Linked DNA regions of Homo sapiens: all the other regions are linked to region 3. Evidence: promoter capture Hi-C in 16 types of primary human blood cells and fetal thymus (Javierre and others, 2016). All regions are on one chromosome and are shown on one strand. Each heading gives the region's core, a stretch centred on a gene start or on the middle of the fragment in contact. The rest is flanking DNA. Distances are from core to core; before and after follow the strand shown.

What was found. Contacts are between HindIII fragments. The CHiCAGO score rates a contact against its expected background, and 5 or more counts as called.
Region 1: a fragment that was not itself captured here is called in contact with the fragment with the promoter of RAB27B in region 3 in 1 of 17 cell types (megakaryocytes); the score reaches 7.2 in megakaryocytes.
Region 2: a fragment that was not itself captured here is called in contact with the fragment with the promoter of RAB27B in region 3 in 1 of 17 cell types (megakaryocytes); the score reaches 12.0 in megakaryocytes.

What each region holds. Positions count from the first base shown.
Region 1 is chr18:54,674,174-54,677,719 of GRCh38, reverse strand. No RefSeq gene overlaps it. Among named protein-coding and RNA genes, the nearest start is that of DYNAP, 85 kb to the right of the region's middle. The HindIII fragment of the contact is 2,359 bases long and covers 706-3,064 here.
Region 2 is chr18:54,691,901-54,695,441 of GRCh38, reverse strand. No RefSeq gene overlaps it. Among named protein-coding and RNA genes, the nearest start is that of DYNAP, 100 kb to the right of the region's middle. The HindIII fragment of the contact is 791 bases long and covers 1,845-2,635 here.
Region 3 is chr18:54,826,611-54,830,470 of GRCh38, reverse strand. It overlaps RAB27B (RAB27B, member RAS oncogene family), which reads right to left and starts at 1,994. Exons shown (of 6, transcript NM_004163.4): 1 at 1,771-1,994. The HindIII fragment of the contact is 8,053 bases long and covers 1-3,860 here.

The DNA of each region.
Region 1 (3,546 bases), core at 636-3,135, 150 kb after region 3:
AGACGTGAGTCAGCAAAACAGACATGAGCCCTGTCCTCATAAAACTTATAGTTAATGTTGTATATATTTCTATTTCTTTTTTTTTTTTTTTAACCGAGTTTCGCTCTGTCACCCAGGCTGGAGTGCAGTGGCGCAATCTTGGCTCACTGTGACCTCCGCCTCCCAGGTTCAAGCAATTCTCCTGTCTCAGCCCACCGAGTAGCTGGGGTTACAGGTACGTGCCACCATGCCTGGCTAATTTTTGTATTTTTAGTATAGTCGAGGTTTCACCATGTCGGCCAGGCTGGTCTCGAACTCCTGACCTCATGATCTGCCTGCCTCTGCCTCCCAGAGTGCTGGGATTACAGACATGAGCCACCACACCAGGCCTATATTTTTTGATTAAAAGAATGTATGAGGCCAGGTACGGTGGCTCATGCCTGTAATCCCAGCACTTTGGGATACCAAGGTGGGTGGATCACTTGAGGTCAGGAGTTTGAGACCAGCATGGCCAACATAGTGAAACTCTGTCTCTACTAAAAATACAAAAAATTAGTTGGGCATGTGGTGCATGCCAGTAGTCCCAGTTACTTGGGAGGGTGAGGCAGGAGAATCACTTGAACCTGGGAGGTGCAGGTTGCAGGTTTCAGTCAGCCAAGATGGACCACTGCACTCCAGCCTGGGAGACAGAGCAAGACTTTGTCTCAAAAAAAAAAAAAAAAAGCTTTCTGTACATTGCTTAGAGGGTGAGGCTGTTGACTGTGGATTTTACCATTAGATGATCAGAAAGAAAACCCCTAGTGTCTGTAACTATGGATCTTTTCTTTTGGGCAACTCAGAAAATTAAACTCTCCTATCCTGGTGTAAGGTATAAGGTATGGATGCAGCTTCCCCCCTCCCCAGATTGCTGTTAAATAGAGATGCTGTTTATTAAGTATAGTTCACATTTTGCTTATTGGTATAAGATCCCATCTTTATTACTGAACTCTTATATTGAGGGGAGGGAATCTCTTTCTAGATTGTATATGCTTTCGCATGGGTCTCTGTCTGCCAGTACCACACTGTTTTAATTATTAGTTCTTGATAGTATGTTTTATTACCTGGTTTATTACTCTTGATTGCTCTACTTTTTCAGAATGTATAAAAAACATTTGGACATTTGACACTTAGAGGAAATAAGGCCCTTTCCCAGAGTAACTCAGATAATAAGTGGCAGAACTGTCATTGGAACCTCTCTCATAATCACCACCTTTCATTGACTGAAATGCCTTTGTTAAAATATCTACTTATCTCCTTTGGAAAAAAATTCAGAGGAAGAGATATTTCTTCCTCTTTCAAATGCCTCAAAACTCAAATTTCCTTTGGGAACCCCTGAGGACCTAGGTCATGTGTCCACTGAGGCTCATGGCCAACTCTCTAGGAATAGCTGGAAGGTGGAGAAACATAGCGGGAAAGAGAGCTCATGTCTCCACATCCAATGAGCAAAGCTAGTAGCAGAGTCTGCTGATACTTTACTTTTTAGTGTATATTTCAGGAAGTGTTCTTACAGGCATGTTCCTTTTCTAGTGGGGTCACAAATACCAAATAGTTATGTCTTCTTAAAAAGTCATTAATTTTCAGAAAATTTGTCTAAACCTAGTAATAAAAATATATCACTTTTATTTCAATTTCTATATATTTAACTATGAGGTCAAGTATCTTACCCTCTGTTTTTATTCATTACATAGACTTCTTCTGTGACAAGCACATCAATGTCCTTTGTTACTCTTTCTTAGTGTGTGCCTATAAAAATCTTATTAATTTGTAAGTACTCATTATATGTAAGCAATATTTAAAATTTTTTTCTATGTGTTGAAAATATTTTTTTCCCGGTTTGTTGTTGACTTTGGTTTATTGTGTCTTTTCCATGTGAAAATGGAAAGACTTTCATGGATTAACATTTACTAATATTTATCTTTATAAGTCTTAGTTTTGGTATGAGAGATACAGTATGCGTGTATAAATAGGAATTCAATTTTGTCTCTAATTTTTAATGAAGTAGCATAACATAATATGCTAGGTGTATTTTTTTAAATTTAGATCTCTCTCAAAATACTTGTTATACACCATATCAGTTAAAGTACTTAGAAACTGCTCATCATATTTCACTTTAGTTCTTTCCTTGAATGTATACCTAGGTGAATTCTGGCAGAGATAAATTTGGGGCAGAGCCTAGGATCTAAAGAATGTGAAAAAAGTTCCCTATGTCCGAAGGGAAAATCAGCAAAAGGTAAAAGCAAACAAAAAAATGAAGTGTAGGAATAGAGGATTTAAAATGTTATCCTCTTTTGCTTTCTCAGATGGCCTTGTTTGTGTGAAGCACAAAAGCAGCCCCTGTGTGTGACTAATGAATCTTCCAAGGCATTCTGGGGACTGTGTTGTCAGCCCTTTTAATGGCCTATTAAGCACAGGATTGAATAGATTAAGCATGCAGCCGTCCAAATTAGACCTTGAGTAATCTGACTGACCATGTTAGGCCTTGTGTGACACAGCATCCCTTAGGCTGATGTTAAGGACTCAGACAAGGTGAGAAAAGTCTGTGCTCTAGAAACACAGTCCTTCCCAGGACAAAATAAGCCAACAAATATGGAAGGCAAAGTTTAGTTGGATGGAGAGTGTCATAGAACAAGTACTTCACTCAAAGCTCAATTCTGCTTGTTAATAACAATGTGACCTTGGACAAGTTATTTTTCTTTTCTTTTTTTTCTTTTTTTTTTTGAGACAGAGTTTCACTCTTTCACCCAGGCTGGATTGCAATGGCACAATCTTGGTTCACTGCAACCTCTGCCTCCCGGGTTCAAGTGATTCATAAATTACCCAGACTCAGGTAGTTCCTTTCAGCAATGAGAGAATGGACTAATACAGGCTCCTTCATGAGCTTCTCTTCCTGTCTCCTTTTCATGTTTCATAATCTCGAGGCCTCGCCATTCTCTTATCCATTCAAAATTACTTTTGAGTGCTTACTTTGTGTAAGACACTATGCCATGGGCTACTAGACTAGTACACTGTTGAATAAAACATGTGTTTTGCTCTTAAAAAAAAAGCTTATAGGTTAATTAGAGAGAAGATAATAAAAGTTAATATTTATTGGGCAATTATTCTGTGCTAGATGCTTAATTCTCATTAATTCCCACAGCTACTCTGAGGGCTACATTCTCTCTTTATCCCCATTTTACAGGTGAGACAAAGTCAGGCAACATGTCCAAAGTCACATAACCTGCAAGTGTCTGAGCAAAGATTCAAACCCAAATATCTATGAATTCAGAGCCCAAGTTTTTTAATCAGACTTAAACACTATGCTATATTAAAAAGTAATTATACTGTGGTATAATATAACTAGAATGTGGTGAATGACATATGAAGTACGAACAGATTTGCATGGACATTTAGAGGAAGGAGTGGCCACTTTTGGCTGCAAGAATCAGAGAAGACATGGTGTAGGAGAGATTGGAGATGTATCTTTAAAAGCCATATTAGTCTATGCTCTGCCAAGATTATTATTATTTTCAGCAGAAATGCTTTCAAGTG
Region 2 (3,541 bases), core at 991-3,490, 140 kb after region 3:
TGTTATTCTGTTATTAAAACTATTTCTTCATTATTTATATTTGTAAAATCATGTAGCTTGGTAATATGCTAAATATTAAACAAATGGCTCTGAGACAAATGCAGCATTGATTCAGACATGGGAGAAAACGGCAAGGAGTCTAAGAAGGATGTGTAGGATGAGTGGATAGAGGTGGAACTTGGCTTGAATAATAGTTACAGTCAGGTCAGGGTGTGAAGGCCCTGAAGTCAGTCACATGGAATAGCTAAGTAAAGACAGGAGTGTGGGTTTGATATCGGTCAGTTAGAGAAGCTAAATAAATAGATCCATAAACCCTCAGTAACCAATGAGATTAAAATGTTATGTAAGATGGATATTCCTAATAGCAACAAAAATACATGAAATCCCTATGTACAAACTCAACTAGAAATGAGCATGAAGAAATGAGAAGAATTACATGAAGAAATTCATGAAGAAAAGTATTGATCTTTATTAAAGGACATAAAAGAAGACCCAATTAAAACAGACAGTGAGAGAGAAATAGAGAGAGACTAACTTCCTGTATTGAAAGAATTTAACATTATAGGGATAAGTTTCACTAAATTCATCTATAAACATAAGGCCAATGAATATGACATTACCAAAAGTATTTTTATGAGAATTAAAAGCTGATTTGGAAAAGAATAATTAGCTTTCCCTTGCTAATTCTCTATTAAATATCAAACCACACCATAAAACTAGAATAACTTGTAAAAGTGTGGCATTGATGCATAATCTACAAATTTCACAGTGGAACAACTCAGCATGAAAAGAAAGATATATATGAAAACATAATATGGAAATATTATTTATGACAAAGGTAGAATTTAAAATCAGTAGAAAAATGACAGACTAAGGAATAGTGTGGGTACAATTGGCTATCCATTTAGGGAAAAGATATCAGATATCTATGTCATACCAGGCACAAAAATAAATCCAAATAGATTAAGTAAATAAAAACCTAGAAATGAATACAAAGAAACTATAATGGATTATCTTTATAATCTAAAGAGTTTTTCTAAGCAATACACTAAACACAGAAACTGTAAGATTGATAAATAAAAATTTTAAATACATACAAATTTAAATGAAAACTATAAATCAGAGCAAAGATTGACCTCCATAATTAATACAGAACAGTATCAAATTAAAGAAAGTAAAAACAGGTCACCTAATAGAAAAATGGTCAAATTACATGAACAGCAAATTTTCAAAAGAGGAGGTAATAAGATAAATTAAAAGATGCTCAACCTCATTATAAATCTGGGCCATTCTAACTGAAATGAACTAAAATCATGTTTTGTGTATCACACTGTCCAAAATTCAAAAGATTAATTACATTTTTAAGTAACAAGAGAGTGAGATTAATTATGTTTTTAAGTAACAAGAGAATGGGGATACTCACTCTCATACTTTATTTGTGGCACCCTAGTGACACTCCAGAAGGTTTCTCCTGTTTCCTTCCAAAGAGAAACACTCTCCACCCCTCCCCACTACGGGAGGTAATCATTATCCTGACACCTACAACTAATATTATTTTTGCCTATGTTGTTATTTTATATAAAAGGAATCATATACTGTAATTTTTTTGTACCTGGCTCCTTTGCTCAATATTATGATTTTGAGTCACTATTATTGCAGTTTCAGATTTTTCAGTCTCATTGCTTTCTACTAGATGTGCATACCAGAATGTATTGTCCACTCTATTGTTGATGGTCATTTGGGTAGAGCTGCACTGATCACTCTTCTACGTCTTTTGGTGAGTGAACATAGGTATACGTTTCTGCTAGGGAAACACCCAGAAGTGGACCTACTGGCTACAAGCTTTTCATGTATTCTTCTTGAGAAAGATGTTGCCAAGCATGTTTCAAAAGTGGTTTTTGTCAATTTCCACTTCTACTTGTGGTGGATGGAGTTCAGTTTACTCTACATTCTTGCTGACACTCGGTATTATCTGCCTTTTTCCTTTGCCCGTTTTGGTGGTTACTTGATGGCATCCTGTGGTTTAGCTTGCATTTAAAAAAAATAACTAATAAAGTTGAGCACCTTTTTACAGATTTAAAGGACATTTAAATATCCTCTTTTATGGAGTATCTGTTCAAGTCTTTTGTCCATGTTTCTATCAGGGTTTTTTGTTTTTATTTATATTTTTTCAAATATATATATACATACACATATATATTATATATTATATATACCTATATATTATAAGCAATATATAAACATATCAACATATATATATATATATAAAAATCTGCTTTCATTTTTTGGGTTGCTTTTCCTAACTTTTTAAAGATATTGTTTGGAGAAGTTTTTTTATTTTAATGTAATTCATTTATCTTTTTTTCTTTCATGCTTAATGCTTTTGGTGCCCTGATTAAGAAACCTGTCGACTCCAAGGTGACAAAGATGTTCTATGATGTTTTGTCTTATCTAATCTTTGAAAAGCAATACAAATATAAAAGATTAGTAAAATGTCAGATGTAGTAAAATGGTAAAAACACCAGAAAATGAGAACATTAACCATCTATAAAATTTCATCAGGAAAGTCAGTGCTTTCTTACGACATGATATTACCAGGAGGAGATTTATCACTCCCAGCTAACATTATAAAGCTTAATTCCACTTCAACATTTATAAATGAAATCCATCATCACTTGACTATAAGACTGATAACTACAGTGAATAGGCATACACAGAAGGCATAGGTGAATGCATTGGAAAAATAATAGCTTAGAGTATCTTCAGATTAGCATTCATTATCCTGACAACTAAAGAAAGAGACATGCCCATCACTGTACAGAATACAAAAACAGGACTTAAAAGATACAATCTGCCTTCAGTGTTAAATTGAAAATGGTTATTGGATTTAGCCAGCACAAACTGGAAAGCTCATTCTCTATCTTACTTTAAATGCTCTTTATTTTCTCTCTTTAAAAAATAAATTTCCTTTTCCTCATTTTCTTGCATTAGCAAAAGGAATATGCTAAAGATGAACTTTACTGAATGAAATCAAGGTTGTTTTTTTTCTTGTTCTCTTCGTTCTTTTCTTCCTAATACTTCGTGATATTTTTGTTTAGAGTTTCACAGATTTATAGAGCTCAAAGAGATTGTAAAATTTTACCCTATCCATCCTTCAAAAACATCTAAGCCATATGAAAACCAACCCTGTCGGTATGACAATTTGCCAAGCCTTCAGCTATAGGGAACATAATCATCTGGTTCTGTTTTTATTTTGACTAAATAAAATGTGAAGACTATAAACAGTACTTAAAAATCACTGAAATAAACTAGGAAAATTGATTCATTCTATGTCAGTTTTTTTAATAATTCTTTTTACTACTCAATGTATTAAATTATGATTGTAAAGTGTTAAAAGATTAAATATGTTTAGTGTCTTAATGAAGAAAGTGGGTTACATTATTCTCCTAAGGGTTTGGAAAGAAATTATATTGAGTTGCTTGATTTCCTATGTATAATATTTCTTGTATTTATCTTCCTTTTTTAAAAAAAAAACACTTTT
Region 3 (3,860 bases), core at 745-3,244:
AACCTGCCTTGATGAATCAACTGAAGAAACTGGATTGTGAGATGAGTTTTATATGAGTAATTGTTCTATATTTCATGCCGTACTGATCTGAGAGCCCAAAAACCTAACCAAAAATTTGCAGGAGTGAGGGTGGGAAAAGAGCAGGTTTCTATTCTGAACTACCTGGACATTTGGATAACTTCCATTTTTCCAGAAAAACAGTGAAATAAATGAACAGCAATTCTGAAACCAACATACAGTTGTAGTGTAAACTGGCATACCAACTGATCTTCTACCAAGAAGATCAATTATATTAGGGTTACCTTCCCTATTGGGTCAAACATGCCTGTTCCAGAAATGACCTATGAGAAAGGGGAACTGTGGTTTGCTTACATTCAACAGATTCCCTTTATCCCTTCTTGGCAACTATGAGAACAGGCTCATCCAGTTTTATCTGCTATGTTTTGTTTTCCTTTCGAAAGCAATGACAGTAACACTGTATGAGAGGCCATAGTCAATTCTGAAACAGAAAAGCTCCATTAATATTAAACTATCTGTCAAGATTACCCCTTTTTGGTCATTGGTAGGAATCACCTCTTGCCTTCAAGGATGGCTGACCCCATCTGGGTAGAGGATTATGCTAGGAAACTATGAAAAATAACTATTTGAGGGGCAATGGCACATGACAGGTATGTCTCTCTCTTCATCACTGCAATATGGACTTTACAGCAGCTTGAAAATTCATTAAACTTAAATATCTGAGTTTATATTAATGCTTAAGTCTATCCTTTCCCTCAACTTTTCAAAATTTATAACCATAAAACCCTGTATATTCTATATATGAATGAATATGTGTGAATATAACTAAATATTGAGAACTGTAGACATTTTTCTTATAAACAGAACAAAATCAAAATTCAGAGCTGTATTATATTAAACAATAATTTTGTTGTTAATAACCTTGAAATTTATGTTATTACTTTGGGCTTAATTTAATGATGTGCAGTTTAAAACAACTGGAATTACATACCCTTAGCTTTACATCTTGACATAAAAAACTCACAAAACATGATACAGGTGTGAAGGCTCTAACCAAACACAGCTTTTTCCTAGGAATGCAGTCTCTGCTTACAGTTCACCTACTTCAGTAGTTTTCAGAGGCTTAATTAATGTTGCATTGGGTGGGAAAGTCTTGAAAGCTAATTTATTGTGATCAGTTGGGTGAACACACATGCACACATATACCCTAGTTGGTGCAACACTTAGATCAGAATTCGAAAGTAACAGAGCAAAAAATTGGAAAACAGAAAGTACTCTTAAGGTCTCTGTGGCTATTTCATCTAAGGAAGTGCATATAAATGTCTTATTGCTCTCCTGGCTTGCCTCACTAAGTCGCTCCTCCTGGAATGAAACTCTGAGCACATCATCATCCATGCTTTTTCTTATTCATTATTTTGATTGTTTTTTGAGATGCAAATGAAAGGAAATTGGCATTGCTGTGCCTAGGCTTTTTGTTTTTCTTTTTGCTTTTTTTGGTGGTAACCAGCTGTTTGATAAGCAAACACTCAAGGAGAGCCAGGTCGAGTTGGCCCATGCCATCCGTGCAGCACACAGCACTACTGTCTTCTTTGCAAGGATTTCTGCTGGAAACCGCGATCGAAGGTGCACACGCACTCACACATGCACACACACACACACAGAGGCCTCACTTCCCACGGCGCAGGCCGGCGCTGCAGCACCCGGGTGGGTGGGAACGCGTTCCAGCAGCAGCAGCCCGCCTTCCCAACTCACCAGCCTGCGAAGTTTCCTTGCCGGGAGAGCAGGTGTCAGATTTCAGAGAGGTTTCCTTCCCCTTCCCAAGCCCTGGAACTCCCGGGCTCCACCGTCAGCAAGGAGACAGGATCTGCTCCACAGGGCGATGAGCACGGGGACAGCTACTTATCTCCTCCAACCTGTGGCTCCGGATGGGTCCAAGGCCGGGCGGTCCGCAGCCCCTGCCCGTCAGGACTGCGAGTGGCAGGGCTGGTGGCACCACCCTCGGAGTCCGCCGCGGCGGCGGGGCTGGGTAAGGTTTGTGTGAGAAGAAGGCGTGTCTGCAAGTCCCAACGCGGATGTGCGGAGCTCACCTCAGGCAAGTCTTGCTGGTGACTCAACTGCTGCAGTGAGAAACACACTCCTCTCGGGGATGAAGTCTCCACACTGTGGGGCTTCTAGCCTTACCAGCGAGCTCATTTTTATTCATTTTTGTTCTGTGTTTTCTTTGATGTCTCTCATTCAAAGAGCCCAGGGCGCTGTGAGAACTGGGGCCCTGACATTGCGTTCTCTCCTCCGAGGGGGTGTCTCATTAACTATGAGGAGTGAAGGCGAGGGATTGCGAGTGGGGAGCAGAGGATGGCCTCGGGAAATAAAAGAGGGCGTTGGAAAGAAATTAATATTTTAAAAGTTAGGATGTGTTCGTATGAATGCATTAATCAGTATGCAACATCCAAATTCACTTCCCAAAGCCCTAATTCACTTCCTAAAGTCACTTCAGAGATCAATAGGTTACCACTAAGTAAGATAATGAGCACACGGAGGCATTGAACCAGTATTTGTTAAGCACCTACTATGTGCTATGCCGTGTTCTAAACACATTAGATTCGTCCACAAAGCAAAGATCCTGGCTGCCCATCTTGGGATTCCATTTTAGACACATTCAGACATCCCTAATTTACAGACTGGTAGTAAAGGTAAGAATACAAGGTTAGGTACATTATAATAACAACCGATTTACTCCTCTGTGAACAAAATTTAAAAGTTCCAAACCTGTGTCTTGCATTCATGTTAGTAAACAACGAGATGCCAATGACTGCTTGAATTTTAATTACTTAACTTGTTTCTTATTCGATGCCCTAGAGACAATCTGGGAGGCACTGCTGTTATCAGCTCCCAGAGAATTTCTTGTAGAAGGGAGCAAAGGAATAGCCCAAACCAAAACACAAAACAAACAATAGCAAACTAGTGGAAAAATGGAATATTAGAGAAAACATTTTGGTCTCATAGAAATCTGTCTATTCTATTATGAAACTATTAAAGAAGTTCTATTTTATGTCCTTCAATGTTCTTGAAAGTTGAAAAGAAGAGTAATAATAATGTCTTCATAGTGTTATTGTGAAGAATTGACTTCATATCAGTAATGTGTGTAGAACGTGCCTGGCACAGTAAGTTCTATGAATGTGTTGGCTATACTTATAATTTTGGTAACAATCTATTCCATTCTCCCCAAGTAAGATCCAGTTCCTAAAAATTATTTTGGATCTACTGCATAAAAGTCTTTGAGGCTCAGCCTGTAGATTTTCAAAGTATGTATGCTTGGAATCTATATTTATGATAAATCTACTTTGCATTTAACAGCAATATCTAAGTATATAAGAAGTGTGTGTCCATGGGCCCAGACAGAAATAAAAGAAAGAACATAAGAGCCTTGAATCTTTTCCACTGTTAACACATTGACTTAAAATCACCCTCTGTGCTATACAATGATAACCCATATTCTTTATCTAGTTCATGTGTTCACTACTGACATTAGTCCTAATAGCTATTATTTCCTGTATGCAATAGAGTTTCATCTCATTTGGCTTTCACAACATTACTGTGAAATAGGCAAGGCGTCTATTATATTTATTGTCTCCATTTTCAGAATGAGGTAACTGAGGTTGAGAAAGTCGCAGTAAATCTGTCCAAAGTGATGAAGTTCAAAAGGTGGAAGACAGGTCTATTGATCCTGAATGCCGAGCTCACAGTGGTCACTGTGTTGTACTACCTCACTGCAACTTCTAGAAAAGGTTCCTGCCATAAGAAAATCTGACACACACATTTATTGATGACTCTCCTTGCCACCT